Regions from separate parts of the Homo sapiens genome. Here regions 1 and 3 are each linked to region 2. Evidence: promoter capture Hi-C in 16 types of primary human blood cells and fetal thymus (Javierre and others, 2016). All regions are on one chromosome and are shown on one strand. The core of a region is centred on a gene start or on the middle of the fragment in contact, and the rest is flanking DNA. Distances in the headings are between cores, read along the strand shown.

Region 1 (3,484 bases), core at 567-3,066, 170 kb before region 2:
CATGCCTGGCTAATTTTTGTATTTTTAGTAGAGACAGGGTTTTGCCATGTTGTCCAGGGTGGTCTTGAACTCCTGGACTCAAGTCATCTGCCTGCTTTGGCCTCTCAGAATGTTGGGATTACAGGCGTGAGCCATCGCACCCAGCCTGGCTAATTTTTTGTTTGCTTTTTTGTAGAGATGGGGGTCTCATTTTGTTGCCCAGGCTGGTCTCCAACTCCCAGGCTCAAGCAATTCTCCTGCTTCAGGCCAGGCACAGTGGCTCACACCTGCAATCCCAGCACTTTGGGAGGCCGAGGTGGGCAGATCACCTGAGGTCAGGAGTTCGAGACCAGCCTGACCAACACGCAGAAACCCCATCTCCACCAAAAATACAAAAGAATTAGCTGGGCGTAGTGGCAGGCGCCTGTAATCCCAGCTACTTGGGAAGCTGAGACAGGAGAATTGCTTGAATCCGGGAGGCGGAGGTTGCGGTGAGCCAAGATTGTGCCATTGCACTCCAGCCTGGGCAACAAGAGCGAAAACTCTGTCTCAAAAAAAAAAAATTCTCCTGCTTCAGCCTTCCAAAATGCTGGGATTATAAGCACAAGCCACTGAGCCTGCCCAAGGTTTTGTGTAAAAGATTATGTTATCTATGAGAGACAGTTTTACTTCTTCTTTTCCAATTTCCTTTTCTTTCTTTTTCTCACCCAATTTCCCTGGCTAAGCCTCCAGTAAAATTTTGAATGGCTGATGTTAGCATAAATAGAATTATCTGTAGCCATTGAAATACACACACACACAAATAGTATTTTGCATATTGACCTTACATCCTGCAGCCTTGCTAAATTTACTTATTCTTTTAGTTTTGTAGACTCCCTGAAATTTTCTATGTAAACAATCATGTTACCTGTGACTACAGTTAGTTTAATTTCTTCCTTTCCAAGCTTACATATGCCTTCTACTTCTTTTACTTGCCTTTCATGGACTGGCTAGAACCTTCAGTACAATGTTGAACTCAAATACAGAGTGGACAACCTTCCTTATTCCTGATCTTATGGGGAAAGTGTTCAATATCTCACAATAAAGTATGCTATTAGCTGTGATTTTCACAGTCTTCATCTGGCTGATGAAGTTCCCTTCTTTTCCTATTAGCAGTTATTATTTAAGTAAAATTAGGACTATTCCTTTTAATTCAAATTCCTTATAGTTTTATTTATTTATTCTGTTAAAATATACACACTGTGAAAATTATTTAACCCATTATCATTTTTAAAAATCATGAATGAGTGTTGAATCTTGCCAAATGCTTTTCTGCATATATTAAAGCAATCAAATGGGTTTTCCCCCTTTATTCTGTTAATATGGTGAATCACATTGATTTTCAAATGTATTTCTTTATTTTTTCTTGCGCTTTTTCTTGCACTTAAAACAGCATATGGTTGGGTTTTGCTTTTTTTAAAAAAATCTATTCTGACACTGTTGGCTTTTTAACTGGGAGTATTTAATAGTTTTTACATTCAATACAGTTATTGACGTGGCCGGATTTAGGTCTATCATTTTACTATTTGTTCCATCATTTTGCTGCTGTTCTCTTCTTCTTTTCTTATTCTAAGTAATATTTTTAGACTAAGTAAATATTTTTAGAAATCAATTTTAATTTATATATTGGCTTTTTAGCTATATCTCTTTGCATTTAAAAAAATAATTACTCTTGGCTGGGCATGGTGGCTCACACCTGTAATCCTAGCACTTTGGAAGGCTGATGCAGGAGGACTGCTTGAGCCCAGGAGACCAGTGTGGGCAACATAGTGAGACCCTGTCTCTACAAAAAAAAAAAAAAAAAAAAAATTGGCCAGGCATAGTGGTACATGCCTGTAGTCCCAGGGACATGGGAGGCTGAGGTGGGAGGATTGCTTGAGCCTAGGAGGTCTCAGGGAGGGAGGATTGCTTGGTTGAGCCTGGGAGGGTTTAGTGAGCCATGATTGTGCTACTGCCTTCCAGCCTGGATGACAGAGTGAGGCCCTGTCTCAGAAGAAGAAAAAAAGTTACTCTAGAATTATACTTTACATAATTTACATCTTTAACTCTTTATACCTGTTTAGAGTTACTATTGTGCAACTTTATGTAATGCAAGAATCCTGCTACATTATTATAGGTCTATTTACCTGCTGTTCCCAGCCCCTACGCTATAGTTATCATATGCCTTACATCTATGTGAGTTATATATTACAGAATATAATATAATAACTTTGCTTTAAACAGTCATATTAATTTTAACAAAATTAAGAGGAAAAATCCTTTTATATCTACTATGTCCAGCGCTCTTCATTCCTTTTCTAAGAGCCAAGTTTCCACCTGGTATTATTTTTCCTCAGCCTGACTAACTTCCTATAGCATTTCATGTAGTACTGGTCTTCTGGCCATGAATTCTTTTCTTTTCTGTTTACCTGAAAATGTTTTTATTTCATAATCATCTTGAAGAATCTTTTTTTCTGAACGTGGAATTCCAGGCTGACAATTTTTCTTTTAGTACTTTAAAGATGGTATTTCACTGTCTCTTGGCCTCTAGTTTCTGATGAGAAGTCAGCAATTTTTCACCTGGTTTCCTTGTATGTAACATGTTGTTTTTCTCCAGCTGCTTTCAAGATTTTCTCCTATTTTTGGTCGTCAGCAACTTGACTTCATGGAACAGGGCATAGTTTTATTTTTATTTACCTAGTTGGGGTTCACTAAGCTTCTTGGATATGTGAATTATGTCTTTCATGGGCTCAGGAAATTCTTGGCCATGAGTTCTTCAAATAGATATTTATTTTGCCTTTTCTTTCTCTCCATTTTTTCTGGAAGTCCAATTACATGTGTGTTACATCCATCCATCCACTCACCCATGCATGGTCTTACTCTGCTGCCCAGGTTGGAGTACAGTGGCACAATTATAGCTCATAGCAGCCTCAAGTTCCTAAGCTCAAGCTGTCTTCCTGCTTCAGCATCCCAAGTAGCTAGGACTACAGGTATGTGCCACCACGCCTGGCTAATTTTTCAAAGAAAAAATTTTTTTAGTAGAGACAAGGTCTCACAGGTTGCCCAAGCTGGTCTTGGACTCTTGGCCTCAAGTGATCCTTTTGCCTCAGCTTCCCAAAGTGCTGGGATTACAGACATGAGCCACCATGCCTGCCCTAGACCTTTTGATGCTGTTCCATAGATCACAGGAGCGCTTTCCCTTTTCAAAAATCTTTCTTTTTCTTAAGAACAGATAATTTCGGCCGGGCATGGTGGCTCACGTCTGGAATCCCAGCACTTTGGGAGGCCGAGGCGGGTGAATCACTTGAGGTCAGGAGTTTAAGACCAGCCTGCCAACATGGCGAAACCTTGTCTTTACTAAAAATACAACAAATTAGCTGGGCGTGGTGGTGCACGTCTGTAATCCCAGCTACTCAGGAGGCTGAGGTGGGAGAATCGCTTGAGCCTGGAAGGCAGAGGTTGCAGTGAGCCAAGATTGCGCCACTGC
Region 2 (3,567 bases), core at 679-3,178:
GAAATGGACACGTTTATGTCAATAAATGCTGTTAAACAAAATGACTGAGGTCCTGGTAAATTGAGGTTTGGGGTTTGGGTGATGGAAAACCATCCCTGAACACCTGTTTCCCTGGGTTCTGTATCCATGGGGTAAAATTAGACTTTGTCTTGGTGACTTCAGGTGTAATGAACTTTGCAGATCAATAACATTTGCAATAAGAAAGATGGTTTCAAAAATATCTTCAAAATCAAAAGTAACCAAATAAATGTTTATGCCATTTTACTATTTCCTGCCTCCCTAATCAGGCTGGGGTTCCTGCAGCCAGGGACTGTGTGTCCCCCACATCTTCCATCAGACTGACAACTCCTCAGGCAAGGCTGTTTCTCTCTCTCTCTCTCTCTCTCTTTCTTGCTCTTTGCTGCCCTGCCACCCCAGCCCTGTGGACACTAGAGTTCTGGTTTATGTGCCCCTTTTCCCACTCTGTATAAGAGCCCCCTGGAAGAAGAGGACCACATTACTGAGGATGGGTGTCCTGCGATTCCAGAGCAAACGGCTCTTCTCATCACCCCCAATGCCCGATATGAAGGGAACACGTCACCTGCAATTCACCACCTCTACCCCAAGCTCTAACAGACATCTCATGTCGAACAAGTCCAACAGAGAATGGCCAAGCTCCCTGCCCAGCTTGCCCTCCTGCAGCCTTCCCTATCTCTCTGATGACAACTCCATCCTTCTAGTTGCTCGGGTCCCAAATACTCCAGTGATCGTTGACCACTCTCTCTCACACCCACATCCAACTCATCAGCAAACCTCATCGGCTCTACCTTCAAGATACATTCAGGATCCAACCACTTCCCACCACCTTCCCTGTTACCCTGGGACCAAGCCATGCCATCCCTCGCTTAGATAATGGGAAGAACCTTAATGCACCATCTGATGTCATACACACTTTACTCATTTAACTTCACCTACGGTCTGTCTCCCCCAGAATATAAATGTCGTCAGAGCAGGAATCATGGTCTCTTTTGTTCATAGTTGTATCCCTATCACCTAAATGAGTGCCTGACACATAAAAGATGATTAACAAACACTTGTCAAATTAACAAATGAAGTTCTACAAAGAGCCTCAGAACAGGCTGAAGCTTGCTGTGCTGAGCTGAAAGAAGAGGGATTTTCAGAAATGAGTCCACGCTCCCAGGTCATTGCTCTGAGCTCTTTTTCAAGTTCCCTCCTCTCTGGCTCCCCAAGAATGCTTGCCTGGGGTGGCTTCTGCTGTCTGTGGAGTCTGGGCACAAGGGCCTACCCTCACCTGTTGGGGGGTGGTATTGTGTGGCGAGACGGGTGAACCTGCGTGGAAGTTATAACTCTACCACTTACTAGCAGTGAGACCTGCAGCCATGGTTCTCTTACCTGCAAAATGAGGATAAAAGTCATAATTGTTAGTGTTTTAGTGAACACAGGTGCCAGGAGCTGTGCTAATCTTCTTACACATAACTCATGTCTTTCCCACATCAACACAATGGGACAGGTACTACTGTTACAGCTGCCAACTTACACATGAGGCAGCTGAGTCACAGAGAGGTTAAAAGGTTTGATAAGGATCACAGGTGGTTATAGGCAGAGCCCGCACATAGTCAGCCCACAGAAACACTGACATCATTGTAATAGGGGTTCAGGCACCAGGAGTCTTTGGAGGGGAGGGCAGAGGCTGCTGGGGAGCTCTGGAGGGTCTCCTGTCAGCAGGTGAGTCCTGCTTCGCCCGGGGCCCCCAGTTGAAGCTCCCCTTCCCCATCTCCCAGACAGGCCTTGGGCACCTCCTCCCCTGACCTCCTGGATTGACAGCCCTGAGTGAGGAGGGTGTGGAGCCAGGAGGTGGGGACCAGGCTCAGCCAGGCTAATCAGGTCGCAGGGTGAAATTTAAAGGGAGGAGGAGGCACCAGTCCATCAGAACTCACACTTCTTCCTGGCAAAGAAGTGCCCAGGACGGGAGCTGGGGAGCCAGGGCTGATCTAGGAGGCTGGGAGCCAGGTGACAGGATGGCCCCAAAGAGAGTTGTGCAGCTGTCCCTGAAGATGCCTACCCATGCCGTGTGTGTGGTGGGAGTCGAGGCACATGTGGACATTCACAGGTAAGAGCTGGGAGGCGCTCTCCTGGCTGCAGAGAGCTGGGTTAGAGTGTAAGTCAATGGGGTGGGTGCCTGGTAGACAAGTCAGGCACGTTGGAAAGGATGCTGGCAGGAGATAGCAGAGAAGGTGGAGTTGGCTGTGGAGTCTGGAAGGAAGGAACTAGGGTCTAGTCAGGTCCTCCTTGGGGCCCCAGCTCCTGGGCACTGGGCTCAGGACATTGGCTTCAATCCCCTGGGTAAGAGTCCAGCCTTAGATTTCTAACTCTGAGCCCTGGGGTCAGGCTTTGGGGTCTGGGCCCTGCATTCTGACACCTAGGTAGAACTTGTGTGGAACATCAGATGGCTCAAGATGGGGAAGAGAACTGGTTCCCACCTCCCTCAATTTCTTGCCAAGCCCCCATCTCTTTGAGGTGAAGGGACGTGTGTGGTAGCTTGACCCTTGGAGGTCAGCCAGAGATAACTAGATTGATTCCAATCAGGAGGGAGTGGTTAGGAAATACTCGATGAATTAATATGAAGAGAGAACCTGGAGCAAGACGGCTGGGACTTATGTTTGCTGTGAGATGATGGTGATGACGCTGATTATGGTGATGAACAGTGATGATGGCGATGATGGCGGTGATGGTGGCAATGATGACATCTGAGGGGGCATCAGTAGCATTTGCTTCTCCTGTTGACCCAAATCTTTCCTGTGCTGGCTGTGTCCAGATGGGGACTCGGGGACTCAGCCTTAGTTTCCCTACCTGGCCACTAAGGGAATTGGATTTGGTGATCTCTGGTGGCATTTCCAACTCTGAGAGGCTGTCTATGGATTCCATCCCTGCTGGAGCAGGTGGGGCTGAACCCCTTGCAGATAGGGGGCTCGTGGTGGGAGTCTCCCTCAAAGAGGAGCTGGGTGCTGGGGGTCTGTTACTGGGTGAGATCTGAGCTCCTTTCTCCCTCTTGGGACTCAGCCCCTGTACCTGCTGGTCTGGTTAATGTATGTGGGGCCCAGGGCCAGCTGCCCACCTGGCCTCTGGTGATCCTCTGCTCGAGAAGCCCTTCCTGCTTCTCTGTTGGGCAGTGGTCTGTGACCCCGGTGGCAGGGCTGGGGAGGAAAACCAGGAGCCATGGAAACCAAACCTTGACTCTAAGTTGCTGCTGGGAGCCCCGCTGTGGGGGCTGGTTCTCTCGGGTCTAGGTGGCCAGCAGAGACCCCATTGTCTCTTGCCCTGTTAACATAGGCTTGCCAGATTTAGCAAATAAAAATACAGGATGCCTGGTTAAGTTTGAATTTCAGATAAAAAACAAAAAGCTTTTTTAGTATATTGCATGGGAGATATTTCTACTAAAATAATCTGCTGTTTAGCTGAAGCTGAAGTCTTTTTTTTCTTTTTCTTTTTTTTTTTTTTTTTTTTTGAGATGGAGTCTCGCTCTGTCACCCAGGCTGGAGTGCAGTGGCGAGATCTTTGCTCACTGCA
Region 3 (3,262 bases), core at 298-2,797, 130 kb before region 2:
TAATTTTTTTTTTAAGACTGAGTCTCACTCTGTTGCCCACGCCGGAGTGCAGTGGCACGATCTCGGTTCACTGCAACCTCCACTTCCTGGGTTCAAGTGATTCTTCTGCCTCAGCCTCCCAAGTAGCTGGGATTATAGGCGCCTGCCACCACGCCAGGCTAATTTTTGTATTTTTGGTAGAGATGGGGTTTCAACATGTTGGGCATGTTGGCCTTGAACTCCTGACCTCAGGTGATCTGCCCACCTCAGTCTCCCAAAGAGTTGGGATTACAGGCATGAGCCACCAGGCCCGGCCAAAGTTTTTATTTATTTTTTTTGTAGAGACAAGTGTCTCACTATGTTGCCCAGGCTGGTCTCAAGCCCCTGGCCTGAAGCAATCCTCCCGCCTTGGCTTCCCAAAGTTCTGAGATTACAGGCATGAGACACTGTGTCTGGCCCCCATTATCCCCTTTTTAGAGATGAGAGACCCAAAGACAGCCTTAGTGAGTTGCCCATGGTCCTACCTCCCCAAGTGAGGGGGCGGCACAATTTGGCACTTCTTTAACCCTGGGACTTTAGCCCAGGAGCAAAGCAAGGAGGCTGGCTGGATGCTGGTGGAGGCTCTTCCCTGTGCTGCTGTGCTCGGGGTCAGGAGCTCCTGAGCCCTTGGCCATTCTCTACGGAAGCCCCAAGGATGTAAGGGCCTGAGCCTCATCCCTCCCAGGGGCCCTCTGGCCCTGCACCCCTGCCCTGCCCTCACCTGGAAGTACAGGTTCTCCTGCACAAGGCTCTCGTTGGACAGAATCTTGTTGATGGTGATTCGCTTGCTGCTCATCCCACCCAAGCCTGTGGGGTTCAAAGGACAGGGGATGGTCAAGCTTTAGATACCCAGGCTGAGTGTTCCCCTTTTGCCAAGATCCTCCAGGCCTGGGCTAACTGCTGGACTGGGACTGGGGAGATGGGACTGGGGAGAGGCTGGATCACAGGAGGGCACTCCCAGGCAAAATCAGGCCCCCCTCTGTCTGGGGAGGGCAGCACACACTCTTTTCTCCAGAGTTGACCATGACATCTGAGCCAGGACAGTGGTGGCAGCTGCCTTGCTCTTGCTTTGGCCAGTGGGATCAGGGGTGCTACAAGTAGCCCCCTGGTTCTCCCACCTACAGCCTACTCCTAAGGATGAGCAGCTGACCAGCATGAATGTGGCAGAAGCAGCATGGCCAAAGGGGACACCCTTCCTGTTTTCCAGAGCTGCCTCATCTTGGCTGCTGCTCTGGAGTGGCCTGCGTTTTCCTCCTGTACCACACGATGGCTTATGTGGCTTCCAGCTTGATTAGTAATGCCTAATGCTCAATGAGCACCTACTATGTGGCCGACGCTCTTCTAAACGCTTTACATTGAATTAACTCATGGATCCTCCCCACATTTCTATGGGGTAGTCACTACCCTGAAAAATGAGGAAACTGAGGCACAGAGAAGTTATGTGACTTGTCTCAGGACTTACATCTAGCAAGCGGCAGAGTTGGTGTGCAGATCAGGCAGTCTGATTCCAGAGCCTATGCTCTTAACCTATTATTTGTTTATTTATTTTGGCCTCATCTGGGAAGAGACTGCTGGTCCATTGCACTTCCCAGGTTTATAACTGGACAGCAGTAAAGATGCCCAGCTACAAGCCGGATGTAATCTTTGAGGCTTAGGGACTCAGAAGGGAGGGTCCAGGTAGAAACAGAAAACTTTAGGGATCTGTGATTTTCTAAAACTGATCCAAGTTCAGGAGATAGATTGATATAAGCATTTTTCTGGAGGGCAAGTCTGTAGTTTTTATCATCTTTTAAAGGGATGTGTTTTCCCCAAACATTGTGGGCTCTGGTCCAGCGGAGATCTTGGCTCTTTGGCATTGCCTGGTTCACCTTCCTCCCCAGGTCTCCTATGTGCTTCTACTCTCTGCTGACTGCACATCCGCGCATCCTCTCTCTGTCTGTCCCAATTACATGAATGTCTAAGTCCAGGAGATAATGTTTCACTCCTGAACTGACAATGACGATGCCTGACCATGCCTTCTGTCCATCAAAGTCCAGTTTTCTTCCTGTCCCCAAACTGTATTCTATCTATTTTCTCTCTATCTCTCTTTCTAAAATACAAAGAGAAATCTGGGGCACTGCTTGCCCCTATTTGTACAAAAATAATGGTCCCTATATCCTATGGGTAGTTTTTGAGGGTATGTTTAATATTAGAGAGGAAGCCTCCAGGAAGTCAGGACTCAAGCTTGCCAATCCAAGAACAAACTTCCCATCAGTGGGGAATTTAAAAAGGGTGGTGGTGTTAAATTGGTCTTGTCTGTCCTAGACACCAGTGACAGTCAGGAACACTGTCTTTGGATCTGAGGGGCAGTCATGTAAGTATCAACCAGCTGCGGGAACTCAGGCTTTCAGGCATGAGATATATTATGGATACCAACCTGAAAAGTGACAAAAGTAATTTAAGAAAAAAATAGGCCGAGCATGGTGGCTCACGCCTGTAATCCCAGCACTTTGGGAGGCCGAGGCGGGTGGTTCATGAGGTCAGGAGATTGAGACCATCCCGGCTAACATGGTGAAACCCCACCTCTACTAAAAATACAAAAAATTAGCCGGGCGTGGTGGCGGGCGCCTGTAATCCCAGCTACTGGGGAGGCTGAGGCAGGAGAATGGCTTGAACCTGGGAGGCGGAGCTTGCAGTGAGCCGAGATGGCACCACTGCACTCCAGCCTGGACGACAGAGTGAGACTGTGTCTCAAAAAAAAAAAAAAAAAGTATAACGGATATAGAGAGTGCTGATGGTTAGTCAGCATTGTAGATGTATTTAATGTCCCGGAACTGTGTCCTTACAAGTGGTTAAAATAACAAATGTGTTAGATTAGGTATATTTTATCACAATAAAAAACATGTTGGACATAAGGATGGCAATGGCAAACACTGGGGACTATTAGAGTGGGGAGGGAGAGAGGAGGGAAAGAGTTGAATGACTAACTGTTGTCTACTATGCTCAGTACCTGCGTGATGGGATCATTCATACCCCAAATCACACAATACACCCAGGTAACAAACCTGCACATGTACCCCCTAAATCTAAAATAGAAGTTGAAAAAGAAAAAAAAGAAGTATGAGGAATTGGCATGGTGTCTCTAACCTGGCTGGTTGTCTCCACCTGATCATCTTTCCCTCTTTCCGTGATTAATTCAAATGCAAACCTCATCCCGACTATGTCTGTCCCAATTATGTGAATGTCTAAACGTAGAAGATAATGT

What was found. Contacts are between HindIII fragments. The CHiCAGO score rates a contact against its expected background, and 5 or more counts as called.
Region 1: a contact is called between a fragment that was not itself captured here and the fragment with the promoter of PADI1 in region 2, in 1 of 17 cell types (neutrophils). The highest score is 5.9, in neutrophils.
Region 3: a contact is called between a fragment that was not itself captured here and the fragment with the promoter of PADI1 in region 2, in 1 of 17 cell types (monocytes). The highest score is 7.1, in monocytes.

What each region holds. Positions count from the first base shown.
Region 1 is chr1:17,037,611-17,041,094 of GRCh38, forward strand. The region is part of intron 2 of SDHB (succinate dehydrogenase complex iron sulfur subunit B); the gene reads right to left. Among named protein-coding and RNA genes, the nearest start is that of SDHB, 15 kb to the right of the region's middle. The HindIII fragment of the contact is 1,790 bases long and covers 922-2,711 here.
Region 2 is chr1:17,203,200-17,206,766 of GRCh38, forward strand. PADI1 (peptidyl arginine deiminase 1) reads left to right here and starts at 1,929. Exons shown (of 16, transcript NM_013358.3): 1 at 1,929-2,110. The coding sequence starts at 2,019. The HindIII fragment of the contact is 2,277 bases long and covers 1,123-3,399 here.
Region 3 is chr1:17,070,667-17,073,928 of GRCh38, forward strand. It overlaps PADI2 (peptidyl arginine deiminase 2), which reads right to left. Exons shown (of 16, transcript NM_007365.3): 14 at 740-825. Among named protein-coding and RNA genes, the nearest start is that of SDHB, 18 kb to the left of the region's middle. The HindIII fragment of the contact is 1,384 bases long and covers 856-2,239 here.